Linked DNA regions of Homo sapiens: region 2 is linked to region 1. Evidence: promoter capture Hi-C in human tissues and cell types (Jung and others, 2019). All regions are on one chromosome and are shown on one strand. Each heading gives the region's core, a stretch centred on a gene start or on the middle of the fragment in contact. The rest is flanking DNA. Distances are from core to core; before and after follow the strand shown. Region 1 holds the start of TMEM168 (transmembrane protein 168). Region 2 has its middle 210 kb from the start of PPP1R3A.

What was found. The method cuts DNA at HindIII sites, captures the fragments that hold promoters and counts their contacts. A contact is called where the count stands out against the background at its distance.
Region 2: a contact is called between a fragment that was not itself captured here and the fragment with the promoter of TMEM168 in region 1, in 1 of the 25 tissues and cell types used here (dorsolateral prefrontal cortex).

Annotation. Positions count from the first base shown.
Region 1 is chr7:112,789,023-112,791,722 of GRCh38, forward strand. It overlaps TMEM168 (transmembrane protein 168), which reads right to left and starts at 1,371. Exons shown (of 5, transcript NM_022484.6): 1 at 1,138-1,371. RefSeq lists an enhancer at 1,630-1,759. The HindIII fragment of the contact is 15,678 bases long and covers 1-2,700 here.
Region 2 is chr7:113,710,280-113,713,088 of GRCh38, forward strand. No RefSeq gene overlaps it. Among named protein-coding and RNA genes, the nearest start is that of PPP1R3A, 210 kb to the right of the region's middle. The HindIII fragment of the contact is 3,767 bases long and covers 1-2,809 here.

The DNA.
Region 1 (2,700 bases), core at 121-2,620:
CTGAATAACTCTCCTGCCTTATCTGTTACCAGTTTTCCTCTCACACTTTATTTTCCAACCTTACTGACCTTTCAATTACAAACTGCACAAATGCTATTCCCTTGCCAGGTACACTCCTTTTCCTCCTCCTGGCCCCACCCCAGTGCTCACACCTGGCTTATTCCAACTCTTCAGGTCTCAGATAAATCATTTTCTTAAGAGATTATCCCTGCCCCCTCCCCATTACATGACCCCCATACTTTCTCTGTTACATACCATCACTTATTTCATGTCTGCATTTCCCACTAGATCAAAAGGTCTCTGAGGGTTTGTCTTCAATACTGTACACCCAGTGACTAGCAAAAATCCGGCATCAAGAAGGTATTCAATAAATACTTGTTGAAAAATAAAGACTAATAAAGAAATAACTACATTTAACAACAATAGTCACCATTGGACACTTACTAATGCCTAAAGAGAATACAGAACTTAGCTATATCCCACAACTAATAACTAGTAGAACTAAGGGAGAGTCCATGAATGTTTGGTTTCTATTTCAGCTTTCCACCAGTCTTTACTTAATTCACCCAAATTCTTCCAAACCAATTCTCTCTCCATGTCCTACCTCTAGGGAATGGCTTGAGGCATACCGTATCACTTGCATTATCTTTCACTCAGAAACTCTGTCCCATCTAGAAGTGTCAAGGCTGAAAGAACTACACTGAAAAAACAGGGAATTTCAGTGCTTCAGTTCTGAATTACTGATAACTCTTTGAGCCATCTCATACGAGGAAAATGTCATCTAGAATATCAAACTCCTCAGCACTAGAGCAGCAACAGCAATTTCTCTCCCTTTCGGCCTCCTTCTAGCGAGATGTGGGAGGTCCGACAAGGAGCTTGGCTGTTCTCCACCATCCTCTGCCTCGGAGAACGCGACCACAACGTGGCGCCCAGTTGAGGGGGAACCCTTGCGAAATACGGAGAGGCGCTCCCACACCCTCCAATCTCCAACCACCACTGTCAACTCCTCCAGAGGCAGGTATCCTACCCCGGCCCTGGGAGGCCGACTGGGCGGAGCTTGGGGTCCGGACCACGCGGAGCCCTGGCAGTGTCTATGCCTAGATCTCGCCGCCCTGCCGTCCACCCATTTCTCCCTACCTGACTCGGCCGTCGCCACCAACGCGCTCTCCCAACCCTCGGAGTCAGTTCCAAAACCAAACCAAAAAGGAGGAGAGCAGACAAGGCTTCAGCCTGCGACTGAGAACAGGGAGGCGGCACGCCTTGGGGAACGAGGGCCCGAGGCCATACGCGCTAATACAGGCCAGTGTCGGCGTAAACTTTCTCCGTTACCGGCCCGGCCGCGACCGCCATGTTTCCGCCGCCGAAATCCGCGACGGTACGGAACGCCGCCGGGGTCAAACTGCGCGGCGCGCCTCCTTCCCGAGGCCCGGCCCCCTCCCCGCCCAAACCCGCGCGCCGCCACACACTCAGGTGAGCAAGGCGCTGCGCGAGTGTCAACTGCCCCACCTAAGGCGCCTGCCTTCCTCAAGCCAAAGTCGACTCCTGGGACCTGGAATCAGCAGCTGAGAACAGACAGCGGGAAGACCACCAAAGATCAGGCTGACAGTGCCCATCAAGCATCTAGGCCACCGCCTCGGGCTGGACCGAACGGGGACAGGGTGGACAGGACTGCCACGCGTGGGCTGTAAATACTGCGGGAGGCGTTGCTGCTCATTAATATATATGGCATAATATATGGCTTTGTAACCAGCTAAGGCCCAAGCTCCTTAGGCCCTCCCTCAGACCTTTCAGTTCCTCAAATGCAGGGACATGTCGGGTTTTGCTCAACATTAAATCACCTTAGCATAGTGCCTGACACATAGTTGGCACTTAAATATTTGTAAAATAATAATATGCAATAGGCTCTCCACGATCCGTAGTTCTCTCCTCCCACTTGTTTTGCATGTATTATCTATATATTTTTCCTATTTTCCATAATAGAGTGTGAATTTCCTAATTTTCATAATAGATGTTGGGGGTTGGTGTGGCCAGCACATCTATAGGAATGAACAACTCTCAGATTGAGATTCTGCATATGTGGATGAAAATTTTGAGTTAGATTCTCTCTAGACTCCTGATTTTAAAAGCAATCACAACTCAACTTCCCAAATCTGTAACTAGCTCTCTGGGGAACACGAGTGCCACATTTCCAACTACCTGCTAGATGTTTCTACTCAAATATATTGTCATCACTTCCAACTCAACTTGCCTTTAATGGACATTTATATACATTTATTATGCCCCCCATTTGAATCCCCTTCCGTATTTGGAGAATTCCCCACCTGAGTTAAGAGTCTAATGGCTGCCGCTGAAATGCTGAACACTTGTTTAACTAATCATGTGTACCCGCTGGAAGCCATGAGTCAAAAAAGGCACAGAAAGCTACACTCCCAGGTCACCTGTAGGAGTATAGCAAGTGTAGAGATCGAGAACCCATCCCTAACAGCAAGGTAAGCTTCCGAGGCAGTAGTGAGAGTGCTGGCATCCACCATTAACATGTCAGAGATGCAAGATGCCTGTGCTTGGTGAGGGTCACAACCCCAGAGCCCTTTCCCAATCTGTTCTGTAGCCTGTTAACAGTCTCTGTGTACATTTCTGGGTAGCCTGTGACAGACTCTGTACTACATAGCTGTGAGGCAGGACAATAGGGTCTGGAGGCAA
Region 2 (2,809 bases), core at 305-2,804, 920 kb after region 1:
TAATTTTAATTCATGACAGAGTCTACCCCCCATTATCAACAATTACCTTTCTATCTATACAGTGTCTCTCTCTCTCTCTCTCTATCCATCTTCCATTATCCACAATTACCTTTCTATCTATCTATTTATTCAGTAATTTTCCTTCTTAAGGCTACTTGACAGGTCTGCGACGTTTGCTCTTTGCAAAAAGGCAACATGCCATCTAGTGGTCATAAACTGAATTGCAACCAGGAGTCCCTCAGAAAGCATGCACTTACTTAAGGTGAATGGAACTTGTAGGATTTGCATAATAGCTTACTGGGTCAACTAGGCACTAATCCAAATGTCTCAGACACATAGAATATCTGTCATTTAGTCAAAATCCTCTATGTGGCCTTTTCCTTTTTATTTTTTAGTTACGCCTTTTTTTAAATCAGTTTGGTTTTCCAAACCAGAGGGTAAGCCCTGGGCTGACAAAGTATCCAAATGCATCACGCTGTCCTAGAATAACTATCTACCCAAGTACTAATATTAAAATATTTAGTAACAGAATGACATTCCCTAAGATACTGTCCAGACAGCTTCCTGAGAATCTGTCATAGTCTCCAGAAGTTGGTGGCTTGATAAGTTCTGTTAGTAGTTCTCTTCCAGTGAATATAAATTTAGTTACTTAAGATGACTCAAGGGGCTAGTCATAAGGTGATTATCATCTGCCTTAAAGTTGACTTTATTTGAAATTAACATAGCAACACTAGTTTCCTTTTCTTTAGTATTTTTCAGTGTATGTTTCATCATCACTTTACTTTCAGCCTTTCTGTGTTTTAATGCTTAGATGCTGTCAGGAAACAAAGCTAGAACAAAAATAAATTTAATCTTAAAATCTATATTTTATTAATTCGGTTACATTTTTGTGATTATTAGCATGTATTTGGACATCTGTCATCTTTTTTTTACGATTTTACATCCTTTCTTGCTTAACTTTCTGCTTGTTTTGTAATTTCCCTTTTATTCTTCTACTAGCTTAGAAATTATGTATTTTATTTTCATTTTCTTTAGCAGTTGTCCTTTTATTTTTAACATCCATTCTTGACATAACAAAGTAGAACATTCAATAATATCTCTGTCCTTTCAAAAACATTAGAACAATTTATTTTTTAACATACTCCCCTCTTTAAGGGTAGCTGTCCAGTATTTTAGATACTACTTGCTTTGGAAGTCCTCAAAACCAGATACTTTTTGCAATCAAAGCTTACTGAGTTTTATTAAAATGTTTAAAATTTCTTTAGGGAAAATCACTTTGTGCATCATCATTTTTTTTCATCAGAATCCTCTTTTGTAGATACTTAAATGTATCAGTTAATTTTTCTTTCAGTAAAATCCACAAACTGAAAAGCTCTCAGATATTGTCTGAAAAATATGCCTTTATTTTGCCTTTATTCTTCATCAATCATTTAGCTGGGTATAAAAGTCCATTTGTTCAATCATTTCTCCTGAGTCCTTTGAAAGTATTTTTCCACTACCTGTGGTAGCTCTTGATGGTAAAAAACAGTTTTTATTCTGCTTACCTTTCCTTAGTAGATGATGTGTCTTTTCTTTTGAAACCTTTAAATGTTTTCTTTTTATTTTTATGTTCTGCAGTTTCATAATAACCCACTCATTGTGGAATTAATTGCATTTTCTTGCTCTGAATTTGTGTGCCACTTAAATCAAAAATTTTATTTTTTTCCCTTACATTTGGACAGACTTTCAGGCAATATTTCTGTAAATATTGCTTCACTGCTAGTCTCTACCTCTCCTTCTGGAACACCTTCCAAATAAACATGAGACTTTCTCACTCTATCTTTGGCATCTCTTAATATGCACTCATTGTGATGGTTAATTTTATGTGACAACTTGGCTATGCTAAAGTGCCCAGTTGTATTGGTCAACAACAAGTTTAGATTTTGAAGTATTTTTTAAAGATATGATTAGTATTTAAATCAGTAGACTTTGAATAAAGCAGATTATCTTTCACAATATCATGGGCCTCACTTAATCAGTTAAAGGCCTTAAGAGAAGAGATTAAGATCTTCAGAGAGGGAAGAAATTCTGCCTCTAGACTACCTTCCAACTTAAGACTGCAACATGACTCTTCCCTGGGTCTCTAGCCTGCTGGCCTGCCCAGAAGATTTGAGACTGTCAGCTTCCACAATAGCATAAGCCAATTCCTTAAAATAAATCTGTTTCCTTCCCTCTTCTCTCTGTATCTTTCTGTCTCTCCCTCACATGTTTGGACTTATTTCTATCACTTTGTTTTGTTTACTATTTTCCCTCCTTTCTTTGCTTAATTATCTGCATATCTATCTATCTATCTGCATATACACACACAGAGGCATATTTATAGATATATCTATATCTATATAGCTAGATATAGATAGAGGCATAAATCTATCTGTATCTATATATACTATATATCTATATATATACTATATATCTATATATCTATATATACTATATATCTATATATCTATATATATACTATATATCTATATATCTATACTATATATCTATATATATACTATATATCTATATATCTATACTATATATCTATATATATACTATATATCTATATATCTATACTATATATCTATATATATATATATACTATATCTATCTATCGAGAGAGAGAGAGAGAGAGATCATATTGCTTCTGTTTCTCTGGAGGATCCTGGCTAATAAAATCATATTTTCAATTCCATCTCTCTATGCTGCCTTTGACATATACTGAGTGATTTCTTCATCTTCAACATCTTGCTTACTAATACCATTTCAGCAGTTCCTAATCTGTTTA